3 separate regions of the Homo sapiens genome follow, and regions 1 and 2 are each linked to region 3. Evidence: promoter capture Hi-C in human tissues and cell types (Jung and others, 2019). All regions are on one chromosome and are shown on one strand. The core of a region is centred on a gene start or on the middle of the fragment in contact, and the rest is flanking DNA. Distances in the headings are between cores, read along the strand shown. Region 1 holds the start of MTA1 (metastasis associated 1). Region 2 overlaps ATP5MJ (ATP synthase membrane subunit j). Region 3 holds the start of AKT1 (AKT serine/threonine kinase 1).

Evidence for each region. The method cuts DNA at HindIII sites, captures the fragments that hold promoters and counts their contacts. A contact is called where the count stands out against the background at its distance.
Region 1: a contact is called between the fragment with the promoter of MTA1 here and the fragment with the promoter of AKT1 in region 3, in 1 of the 25 tissues and cell types used here (spleen).
Region 2: a fragment that was not itself captured here is called in contact with the fragment with the promoter of AKT1 in region 3 in 1 of the 25 tissues and cell types used here (dorsolateral prefrontal cortex).

What each region holds. Positions count from the first base shown.
Region 1 is chr14:105,418,201-105,422,619 of GRCh38, reverse strand. It overlaps MTA1 (metastasis associated 1), which reads right to left and starts at 2,793. Exons shown (of 21, transcript NM_004689.4): 1 at 2,557-2,793. The coding sequence starts at 2,584. It overlaps MTA1-DT (MTA1 divergent transcript), which reads left to right and starts at 2,881. Exons shown (of 2, transcript NR_125385.1): 1 at 2,881-3,598; 2 at 4,311-4,419. RefSeq lists enhancers at 1-580, 581-1,248, 3,927-4,419 and silencers at 2,700-2,959, 3,050-3,099, 3,130-3,229. The HindIII fragment of the contact is 32,458 bases long and covers 1-4,419 here.
Region 2 is chr14:103,915,841-103,918,968 of GRCh38, reverse strand. All of the region lies in intron 1 of ATP5MJ (ATP synthase membrane subunit j), which reads left to right. Among named protein-coding and RNA genes, the nearest start is that of ATP5MJ, 4.1 kb to the left of the region's middle. The HindIII fragment of the contact is 7,772 bases long and covers 1-3,128 here.
Region 3 is chr14:104,793,965-104,798,257 of GRCh38, reverse strand. It overlaps AKT1 (AKT serine/threonine kinase 1), which reads left to right and starts at 2,510. Exons shown (of 15, transcript NM_001382430.1): 1 at 2,510-2,774. RefSeq lists enhancers at 1-588, 589-1,361, 3,403-4,044, 4,045-4,293 and silencers at 2,199-2,558, 2,739-2,788, 2,819-3,138. The HindIII fragment of the contact is 31,557 bases long and covers 1-4,293 here.

The DNA of each region.
Region 1 (4,419 bases), core at 1,544-4,043, 620 kb before region 3:
ACTTACACTAATAAATTTCTGTTTATCTGAAACTCAAATTTGCCTGGGCGTCCTGTACTTTTCTTAACTAAATTTGGTGCCTCTACACACAAGGTCCCTGGGGTGGGGGGGCACAGGAGCAAGCCCCTTCCCAGGCTGGGTCCCTGCCGGCATCTCCCACAGGCCAGGACTGGCCACCCAGATGGAGCCCGTGCCAGGCAGCCGGCGACAGACGGACAAAGGCTGCTCAGGAGACACTGCACACCTTCCTCTTTCTTGTCTGGGGGCTCAAGAATCCAGACGCCCACCTCCCCGAGCGAGCACCAAGACAGGAAGCCAACCTGCAATGCCCAGCCCACTGCGACCACAGGGCTCTGCCGGGGTCCTGCCGGAACCCAGGGTTCCGGTCCAGAAGCCAGGGATAAATGCCGCTTCTCCTATAGGGACAGTCAGAGTAGAGAGGGGGAGGCCTACAGTCTCACCTGCAGGGAGAGGAAGTCCTCGGGGCGGGCACGTGGGGGGCCTGACAGCTCCGAGCACACCCGGCCACAGTGACCACGGACTGCACACGCAGAAGCAGTCTGGATCCCACGCGTGGCTGTGCTGCCAGCAGACAGCACCCAACCTCCCATGCTCCTCATCACAGGAAAAGAGACCAGCAGCATCTCTGCCAGGCATGGTGGGGCCCCTCCGCCACAGCCTAGGAGTCCAGGCCACCCACCCTCACAGCACTGGAGTGCGTGGGTCAGTGAGGCCCTGGGACGGGCCTGCGGGCACAGGGGGACAGAGGGTTCGGGGAGGGCGGCGCAGCCCCACGAAGGGCTCCTCCCAAGCCTGTGTGGGGCCCAGGGGAGCTGCACCTCCGGGATGGGACAAGGCAGGGTCCTGGCTTTCATCAGCCACAGCACAGCTGCCACAGGGCACAAAAGGACGGCTGAGAGACGAGGTCCTCACCCACACCATGGGGAAACCGAGGCATGGGAAGGTTGGAGGGGGGGCAGCCAGGCTGGCGCCAAGATCACAGGCAGGCAGGCCTGAAGGCCGAGCAATGCAGCCACTAGGAAGGCATGAGTTGGGGTCGGGGTGTCCCCAGCCCTAGAGCCCAAAGCTGCCACCACTCCCCACCCCCAACATGGGTGGGGGCAGGGAGAGCTCTTCTTGGGACCAATCCCAAAACCATGCGCAGTGGGCCCGGCTGGAGCCCAGGCAGCAGGCATCCTCTCTGCCAGGGTGAGAAACTGGGCCCTCATGTCAGGCTGGAAGGGGGGTCTCCAGGTGGGGAGAAAGAACAGGAAGGAACAGGCCCCTCCCTCGAGGGACCCCGCACCCAGGCTGCTCCCTGAGCGTGGGGTGGGCTCAGCGCACCTGGGTCCACACAGGGACCTGGCAAAGCTGTATGAGGCTGTGGGAGGGGCTGCCGCTGGATGGGGTACAGGCCCACCGCCCCTCTGAGAGGACAGGGGAGGCCCAGAGCTGCTGATGCGGACTGACCGCCCATCTCACAGACGGGATGTAGGGGGCTCCCACCGTCCCCAAGGTCACAGGACTGGCCGGCCAGACCACACGGCGTCCAAGGCAGCAGAAGCCACGCTCGAGAGACACAGAGTGTTCTGGGCACTCGGGGTCAGGGGCATGGGGATCAAGCCAGAGCGGGAGTGACCCCAGCTCCCTCCAGCAGCGCAGGCTGCAGGTGGGAAAGGTAATGAGCACCTGCCCGAGAGGGTCACAGGCAGGGAGGGGTCTCAGAGTCCTGGGGAGGGAGGCGCTGATGGAATGATGGAATGCACACGACCCCCCACCTTCCTGTGAAAGACCCCACGGAGTCCCAGGCACACGAAGGAGGGCAAGGCTCAAAGCTGCAGGCCCGGGGGGCCCGAGCAACAGGAGGCTGGGCCCACGGAGGAAGCCCCTGCCCAGGAGGCCCTCCGGCCTCTCCCCAACCCTTGCAAAGCGCCTCCCGAATGGGCTGAGGTGAGCGAGAGGCAGGGAAAAGTTTGGGGGGACTTAGAGGCGTGCTCGGGATGCTCGCTCCCTGCTGAAGACCCCCTGAGGGATCCCTGCTGGGGGAAGCCCCGGGGCCAGGCTGCAGGAGGGCTCTAGGGAGGAACGTGGCCCCTCACCGGGGCTCCCCATCCCCAGAGGGGATGCACCGGAGTCCCAGCACAGGGCCGCGGGCCGGGGGAGACCCCACAGCCCCAAAACTCCTGCTCCCAGACCGGCAGCCGGCGCCTCCCAAGGCCACGTGCTCCCGCTGGGGGCTCCCGGCCCCGGACCCCCGGATGTCCCGCAGGCCCCGCGCCCCCCCGCCACCCCCGCGGCCGCCCCCTCGGCCCCAACAGGTGGGCCGCCCCCCACCCCCGGGCCGCCGAGCCCCGCCCGCCCCCGATGGGGCCGACCCGCGGGGCCATTTTGGGTTGGGGTGAGCACGGCGGGGGGCGGTTCGGGAAGGAGCCGGGGGCCGCGAGGGCGGGCGGGGGGCGCGGGGCCTGCGGGGCAGAGGGGCGGGGGAGGCGGCAGCGGCGGCGGGTGGGGGCTGCGGGCGGGTCGGGGCCGGGCATAAAGGCGGTGCGGCCTTACCTCCGACCCTGTACATGTTGGCGGCCATGTCCGGGCCGGCGGCGGCGGAGGGGCCCGGGGCGGGCGCGGCGCTCGGCGCGGGCGGCCGGGAAAATGGAGGCGCGATGGCGGGGGCGGGGGGCGCCGCAGGCGTTTAAAGGGGCCGCGCTGCTGCCGCCGCCGCCGCCGCCGCCGCCGCCGAGGCCGCCGAGGCCGCGCAGGGACGGGAGGGCCGCGGCGCGGGCGGGAGAGGAAGAGGAGGAGCGGCCGCGGGCGGCGGGGAGGGGCCTCGGGCGCCGCCGCCCACCGCACGGGCCGTTACCGACCCCGCGCCGCCCGCGGCCCGCGCGCCCCTTCCCGGACAGTTCCTCTCGGCGCCCCCGAGTCCTCCCCGCGCGCCGCTTCCCGGGTGGGCCCTTCCACCAGAACCCCCTGGTAGATCCTCCCCTGGTGCCCTGGGGGTAGAGGGGAGATCCTCCACAAGGGCCATTTCCCTGGTGATCCCTCCCTGTGCCCCACAGGTGAGTCCTGCCGTAGCTCTCCAGGGGTTCCTCCTGATGCTGGGGTCCTCCGGCATTCCTCCCTGAGCCCCCCAAGGGCCCTGAAGCTCAGCGGCCCAGCCCTGGCCTCGGGGTCCCCACCCCACACCTCCCTTCCAGGCCTAACCTTTGCCCCCGACACCAGGCAGGGCGTGTCCTTGGCCTTCGCCGCCCAGCCCGCGTGGCATCTCTGGACAGGTGGTCGTGCGCGCCTTGGTGTGGGCAGGCTCCGTAGCCGGCAAAGCCTCCCTGAACCGTGACCTGGTGAGAAGGCCGCAGAGGAGGTGCCTGTGCCCAGAGGCCACCTCCAAAGACCCCACCTGAGGCTGGAACCCAGCGCCTGCTGACCCCGCCAGCCCCAACAGGGCTGGAGTCCAGGAGCGGCCGTGCTCTTTCCGCAGTGAGGCAGCTGCCTTCTCTTCCCACCACCTGTCAGGATGCCTTCCCGTGTGTGCTTGTGCACAGGTCTAAGGAGAGGAGAGTCCAGTGAGTGACCCAGACGCCCCAGCCAGGAAGAGCATGAGGTGCGAAGGGGGCTTCCCAGATGGAGAGAAACAGATGGTCCCAGAGTGGCTTGGAGACAGGTGCAACATCAGTGTTGGGGGAGGTGAGCAAAAGGAGCTGTCTCGGGGTTCCAGGCTGCTGATGTGAGCAGCACCGTGGGTCTCTGTCCTGCCTGCTCAGATGCTGGAGGGAGCTGACATCTACTTGGGACATCCCTCTCTGTAGGACATGGAGCGGAGCGTTCAGGGCTATCAGGAGGGAGCCCCGTGGCCACGGTGCAAGATCTAGGCAGGCGGGACAGACATGGTCAGGATGCTGGGGACACAGCATGGGGAATCCAGCACACAGGACACCATCCAGGTGGGTAGGAAACAGCATGTGCTGGGAGGAAAGCCAGGTGGGGGTCCCAAGGAGAGCGGTGGCCACAATGTCATGGCTGCAGAGCAGACCAGTAAGGAAAGCCCCACCAGGGTTAGCACAGGGCCAGGAACCCGAGCTGCAGGGCGGTGCTGTCTCTGGGGAGAGAGGGCTATGGGTCCCAGGACACATCCTGCGGGCTGGGCTGCAGGGAACAGGAGCTGGCTTGCTGGTGATTGGGAGGGAAGAGCAGCCAGCCAGCGGCCAGGTGCAGGAGAGGGGCAATGACAGACAGGCAGCGTCTCTCCAGAAGGAAGGTGGGGCTGCTGGCCTCCCCTGTCCTACAGCCCCAGCCTACCTCTGTCTCCTCAGCAGGAAAGCAAAGCTGCAGCCTGAGATCTCCTTCCACCAACTCCTGGCATGGCCAGAAAGTTAGCCAGAAACACCAGAAAGTGCCAGGCAGCTAGGAAGCATGGGGAGAGCC
Region 2 (3,128 bases), core at 437-2,936, 880 kb after region 3:
CTCACTGCAAGCTCCGCCTCCCGGGTTCACGCCATTCTCCTGCCTCGGCCTTCCGAGTAGCTGGGACTACAGGCGCCCGCCACCACGCCCGGCTAATTTTTTGTATTTTTAGTAGAGACGGGGTTTCACCGTGTTAGCCAGGATGGTCTTGATCTCCTGACCTCTTGATCTCCCTGCCTTGGACCCCCAAAGTGCTGGAATTACAGGCGTGAGCTACCGCTCCCGGCCTTGGTTTCCTCTTTGAATTGCATTGACAGCCCTCTGGGGGCAGGTGGAGGTATCCCTGTTTCACAGAAAAAGAAACCTCTGGGTTGAGCCTGGTGGCCCACGCCTGTAATCCCTGCACTTTGGGAGGCCGAGGCGGGCAGAACACAAGGTCAGGAGATCGAGACCATCCTGACTAACACAGTGAAACCAAGTCTCTACTAAAAATACAAAAAATTAGCCAGGCGTGGTGGCGGGCACCTGTAGTCCCAGCTACTCGGGAGGCTGAGGCAGGAGAATGGTGTGAACCCGGGAGGCGGAGCTTGCAATGAGCCGAGATCCGCCACTGCACTCCAGCCTGGGTGACAGAGCGAGACTCCGTCTCAAAAAAGAGAAAAAAAAAAACCTCTGAAACAACAGCTAAAGGGACTTGCCCACAGTTGAGAGCTGACCAGGCAGAGCTGGTGTTGGAGCCCAGGATTCCCAGGCTTCCAAACCCATCGGTCCTGTAGAATGCTTCCTTCCCAGTCGTTGCTGAGAGACAAGGGATTCACTCCATGCCTCTGAACTCCTAGTCTGGGGCTTCCAGAAACCTCCTCTGGGTCTTGTTTGGATCATCTGTGACATATTCCCAAAGCAGGGCTGTTCGTTTCTTGGAACCTCACACTGTCAGAGCATTCGAGTAGCTTGAGGACAGGAAATTTGAGGGCGGACTATCTGCAAGGTGTTCCAGGAGAAGGACACAGTCGCATCCTGCAAGGTCAGACCTCAGGCCACCCTCACGACCATCCTTGCCTAAATAAGTCCTCTCATAGGGAAGAGCAGGAAAGCAGGTGTTGGAGGTAGGTTCTCGTCATCAGGAGCATGACGTACAGATTTGGTGTGAGTGCAGTCCTGCTAACCTGCTGCGGGATCCGAGTACCCGCTTTATAGGAGCTTTCTCCAAGTACCCACTTTATAGGAGTGGGAAGCAGTGTAGGAAGTAAGTACGAAAAGCACTTTTAAAATGCTGTTAAAGGGCTAGAGACAGAACTAACCACAATCAGGGCAGTCCCTGCTGTAGCTCCGGCCTGGCCTCCCCATTCTTGCCTGACTCAAGACACTAACTTAGTTCCTGGTTCGGTGCCCTGTTGGTGCTCCTCTGTCCAGTAGCTTAGCTCCCACGGTGGGGGAGGAATCGAAGGGGCTCTGCAGCCCCCACCAGCTGCCCTCGAATCCCATCCAGGCCAGTTCCAGATTCTAAACTGAATTTTCTTCATATTGTCAAAACGGGAAACAAAAAAACCCTAAAGCAAAAAAAAAAAAAGTTGTTAAATTTAGAGAACAGTTTTAGAATAAAAGCTAAATTCTATGCTAGCCTCCAAGGCCCTTAAATGACATGGCCCATCTTCCTTCCCATAGTCCAGCCATGGTATTTTATGTAACAAGCATTTAATATACAGTACCAGACACTCAACATTTGACATAGAGTTATTCTATGTTATTCTCCATAACAACCCCTTGAGGTGGATCCTGTTTTTATCCCTGTTTTACAGATGAGAAAACTTAAGCGGTTTAAGTTAGCTAGTAAGTGACAGCCAGGATTTGAATCTGGCACTGTGGCCTCCCTATTCCTTCCAGCTCTCCGAGTTCATTCTGACCTCGGAGTCTCTGCCAATGCCGAGGATTCCTCTCCCAGATATCCTGACCCTTTATTGTTTCTCAGCTCCTAAAACAATGTCTGGCACCTAGTACATGCTCAGTGCACATTTGCCAAGTGAATAAATGACCACACGATCCGGGTTTCAGTGATTTGAGGGCCGCCATTTGACCTTTGACTAGGTTGGGCTTGTGAAGGATTCAGTGCGGTAAAGCTGACACACACAGCTGCGCAGTGTGGGAAAGGGAGCACACTGCCGAGCATTCGGATTCTTTGGATCCTGAGCAGTGATGTGAAAGGAGCAGTGAGTGGGTGGAGGGAGGGAGGGGTGGAGGCAGCATTACAGCCGCAGCCAACGCGCAGTTCTTTCTTTCTTTTTTGAGACAGAGTCTCACTTTGTCACCCAGGCTGCAGTGCAGTGGTGTGATCATGGCTTACTGCATCTTCAACCACCCAAGCTCAAGCAGTCTTCCCACCTCAGTCTTCCAATAGCTGTGACTAACATAAAAAATTAGCCAGGCAAGCACCACCACACCTGGTTAATTTTTTATGTTTTGTAGAGACGGGGTCTCCCTATGTTACCCAAATTAGTCTCGAGCTCCTGGACTCAAGTGACCCTCCCACATCAGCCTCCCAAAGCGCTGGGATTACAGGCATGAGCCACCACACCCAACCAAAGCAGTTTCCAAGTGAAATGAGAAGTGCTTAGATCTAGTCACTCCTGACAGCTATTTGACTGTAGTTTAATGGACCACTTCAGATGTTAAAAAGCATATTAAAATGAAAATGAGGGCATCTAATTTGCGGTCTATAGTAGAGAGTAAATTGTAAAAGTAACAAAAAGCATTATTTTGAGACCTGCACATACAAGCAAACTGTAAGTTTGGAATTTAATGGCTTTTCCCAATCAAATTCAGTAATTCATTAAGTAACTACCTTTATTGATTAAATAAGTTCTATCTTAATTGGCAGTTATTATGAAGTGACCTCGTTGTCTTATGTCATCTGTTTTGTATTTAGCAATAGACTTCAAGATGGAGATACAGCTGATCAGAGTGTGCTGAGCCTGGCATTAGTTTCACAAGGAAATCACCATGCCCTGGCCATATTCTTTTTCAGCTTCGAATGCGACATTCATTACATGACGATGAGAAGATACTAATTTTTCGATTTAGACATTAGAGTCATGTGCAGTTCAGGGCATGGCATCAGGGTGGGAGAGGTGCTGGATGAGCTCTGTGATGTAAGGAAGGAGAAGTGGCTAGGATGGCCAAAGGTGGGAGGA
Region 3 (4,293 bases), core at 1,261-3,760:
GGACACTTAATGGGGGTTGTGGTACACAGGGAGGGTCAGGATGCTGCCTTCAGGAGCCTAGGGTAGGACCTGGAAGGAGGGCCCAGCTAGGAATGGGCTAGATGAAGGGGAGGGGACAGTGGGAGAGAAGCTCCTTATCCCTCTCAGGTCGGGATGTCTGGGTTCAAGTCCCTCCTGCCCCACACCGATCAGGGAAGGGGGGCTGTTCCAGGCAGAGACCGCCCAGAGTTGGTGCTGGGATCCTGGCCAGCCTGTAGTCCTCAGAGCCCCTGTGACTGGCTGGGTCTCAAGTGCAGGAATGACAGGACACCGTCACACAGCCACTGTCGCGGCGGTGGTGGTTCAGGCAGAACCTCTGCAGACTCAGGCGGCCATCTGGCCTGGGAGCTGCCCTGAGGCCCCGCCCTGCAGCTGCTGCTGGGACCTACACAGCCCAGGGCCCTCGAGTCCTGCCCCCGGCCAGCAGCTGCAGAAGGTGACAGGGCAGGAGGCCCCTGAGCTCTGGGAGGAGGCAGCCGTCGGGCCCTTCCCTGGTGCAGCAGTTTTTGTCGGAAACATCTGGCCACAGAGCACCTCAGCAGTCCCAGCAGCAGCCGTGGGGCTGGGTTCTCTCCTGACCATTCTGTCTGGGGTGGGAGGGGGTGTTCTTGAAGAGAGGACTCTGCTTTCCCTCTGGGACGCTGGAGGAGAGGGAGATGGCCCTGCCCACTGGGAGATCCCCGTCTTGGGGGAGGGCAGTTCATGCCAAGGTGAAGACAGGACTGGAGTGTGGGGCCCACAGTGGGTTGCAGGCACCAGCAGATGCCAGGGCACCAGGCTGGGAAGACTGGGAGGCCTCCTTGGAGACAGCCAGTGCAAAATAAGCAAGAGGTCCAACCACTTCAAGAACAGCCCGCAATGTCACTGCCTCTTCCATGAGAGGGTGCCCTGCTCCCTCCCACATCCCCAAGCCTCGGCCACTTGCTGGCCTTGTCTCATGGCCCTCTTACCCTCTGCTTCCTCCCTGAATTCCTTCCTCCATCCTTGCATGGCAGAGCCCAGGATGGTGGACAGATACCAGGAACTCTTCCTCGGGGAGCAGTGGGCAGGTGGGACAGTCCCAGAGGGAGCCCCAGGTGGCTCATGGTGCAGGTTTGCTGGGTGAGAGACAGACACCAGACGCCCAGGCTCTGGGGGCAACCCTTGTGTCAGGTATCCCACCCAAGCGGCGCAGACCACTGGGCCTCTGACTTGGCCCCCTGGAGGTGGGCCCTTCCTGGGGTTACAAAGTCTGAGCTGGGAGGGAGCAGAGGTGCTCAGGCGAGAGGCAGGAATGGGGAGTCCCCTGTCTGAGGAGCGAGTGCCCTCATGCAGGGGGAGAGAGTCCTTCTCTTGGTCAGCCCCAAGAGGCAGGGATGAAGCCCGAGTTTTGGCTGCAGACTCTGTCCTGAGCACTGGGCCGAACCTGCTGCCTCTGTCTGCATCTCCTCCCACCCCCTCCCCTGCTGCCAGCTGAACTCACTCTGGCTGAAAATAAAAATGCTCCCCCAACCCCAATACTTAGCAGCCTCAGGAAGGTAACTCACAAGAGTCTGTCTTTCACAAAAGGGTTATTATCAACTGTGGGCCTCTGGAATGGGGGAGGGGCAGTTGTCGGAGGAACTTCTGGCTAGGAAGGGGTCGGGGTGGCAGTCACCTGCACTCTCCTGTGAGTGTCCAGGAGAAAGGGGTCTGTGTCCCACTTACTCATTCCATACCCGGGCCATCTGCCTCCCAGTGGACTTCGGACTGGGTGTCCGGGCTGACCAAGTCCACCCAGCAGGGAGGGCTCTGGGCTGTCAGCTGTCACAGCCCACCCTAGACACCGCTCCTCCTCTGTCTGGTGTCTGCTCCCAGCTCAAGGTGGGAGCCAGGCAAGGTGTGCCCCTCTTCTCCCACTCCCCAGCAAAGTCCCCCTTTTGTGAGTGTAGCTGCCAGTACCTAGGTGAATGGTTGACTCCCCTCGGAGCCTTCCTGCTCCTTGGAGGCCCACCTCCAACTGACCTCCTGTCCTGGCATCCTCCCGCACTTCCCCCAGAGGCACAAGGTCTTGGGATTGGGCCTTTTAGGTCACTCTTGGCCGCCCCCTCCACGCCCCCCAGAGTGGGGCAGCCTGAAAGTCAACCTAAGCCACCCCCGCCCCGCGCGCGGAGGCAGAAGTCCGGGATTCGTCCCTGACCTGTCTCGGGCCCCTTCTGCTAGGGTCACGGCAGAGCGAGCCCAGAAGCGCCGGGTCACTTTACAGACGGGGAAACTGAGGCCAGAGAGGGCGTGGCCCCGGGACGGGCTGGCTGGTGGCCGGGCTCCGTTAGCGGCCCAGCCCAGGCCCCAGGTCGTCGGGAGCTGCCCCTCAGCCCGGCCGCGCGCTCCCCGAGCGCGCTCCGCCCTCGCCGCCGGCCGCGCGGTGGGGACGCCCCGGGCGGCGGAGGCGGATGTGGGCGGGCGGCTCCGGGCGCGGGGCGGGCGCGGGGCGGGGAGAGGGCGGGCCGGCGGCGGCGGCAGGACCGAGCGCGGCAGGCGGCTGGCCCAGCGCACGCAGCGCGGCCCGAAGACGGGAGCAGGCGGCCGAGCACCGAGCGCTGGGCACCGGGCACCGAGCGGCGGCGGCACGCGAGGCCCGGCCCCGAGCAGCGCCCCCGCCCGCCGCGGCCTCCAGCCCGGCCCCGCCCAGCGCCGGCCCGCGGGGATGCGGAGCGGCGGGCGCCGGAGGCCGCGGCCCGGCTAGGCCCGCGCTCGCGCCCGGACGCGGCGGCCCGGTGAGTCCCCGCCCGCCGTGGCCGCCCGGGCCTGGATTTCCTCCCCGCGGGCCGGGCCGCTTTGTTCGCGGCCGGTCGGGCCGGGGCGCGAGCCGCGGCGCCGCCAGAATGGAGGAGCGGGAGCAGGAAGTGGCCGAGCGGGCCTGGGCGGGGAGGGCGCGGGGCGCGCGGGCCCGGCCAAGGGAGGGCGGCCCCACGCCGGGCGCCGGGGGTGCAGGCTGCCGGCCCCAGCCTCCCTCATGACCTTGGGGAGGCCGCTCCGCCGGGCGAGGCCGGGACCCGAGAGAAGGGACGCCGCCGGGCCTGGAGCTGGGGCTCGGGGTGCCCCTGCGGGCCGTGGGGCTCCCCGGGCGCTGGGCCAGCGAGGCAGCCGGCGGAGGTGCCCCGGGGTTGGAGAAAGACTCGCCGCGGCCGGCCTTCAAGTTTGTGGGAGGGCCCCGGAAGGAGACTTCGTTTCCCACGGACGAAAAGTTGTACGTGGTGGCGGGGTACCCAGGCTAGCCACAAAGGACTGTGACCCTCCTGGGCCCCGGAACTGCTTCCTGTCTTGGGTGGGCCCTGGAGGTCCTGCCCGCCCATCCCAGAGGCCAAGGCTTGGAGGGCAGCTGGGGCTTGCCCCTTAGATTGAGTATCCTGGGGCGCTAGCGAGCTTGGTCCTGTCGGGACGGCCTCTGAGTGCTGCCTTGGTCAGCGGGTGAGCTTGGGCCCCTGCTCTGCAGCCAGAGGCCGCCCCACATTCACTCCTGGGTCTCTCGGCCTTGCTCCAGGTGGCCACTTCTTGACTGCTTTGAGTCCCTCATCCGAGCGAAGGGCGGACGGAGTCCGTTGGTGGGGGTCCGGTTGCCTCTCCCGGGAGCTGTGTAGACTTCTCATACACCAGGGTTCTGGAGGCAGATGGAGGAGCCCTTTCGAAAACAGAGTATTTTTTTTTAAGTTGTGACTTAATAATAGTAGCAAGAATATGTGCTTATGGTAAAGGCAGGCGGCAGGTACGGAGGCTGTGGGAAGTCGGGGTCCCTCCGCCCCCACAGGCAGCCCTGTGCTGGCCTGGTGTATACGTTTCTGTGCAGACGTACACCACCCTGTGTGAGCACAGATGTATTTTTACACATGGCTCTGGACAGCTGTCTGACTCTGTCAGCAGCAGGCCTTGGAGGGGCTCAGGCCCGTGTGGGGGTGGGGGGACATCCAGAGGTCTTTGAGTCCAGCCCTCTGCCTCCAGGCCACGCCCACTCAGTGTCGTCAGAGCCCCCTGTGCCTGAGGCGTGCGCGGCTCGGAGCCCTGCCCTCGGAGTCCTGCGGTGCCTTCCTCGAGTCTGGCCTGCTTTCCATCCTGCTAAGTACTTGGGGCATTTCCCTCTTTGGGTAAGGTGTGGTCTTCCCTGTCCTGGCATTAGACACAAGGCAGTGGGCCTTCCTGCCATTCTAAGTGTAGCTTAAGACAATCAGTGCAAAGCAACCCTTTGTGGGTGTCCAGCCCTTGCCTCGGGAGGCCAGAAAGGTGGCCTGGGGGGAGAGC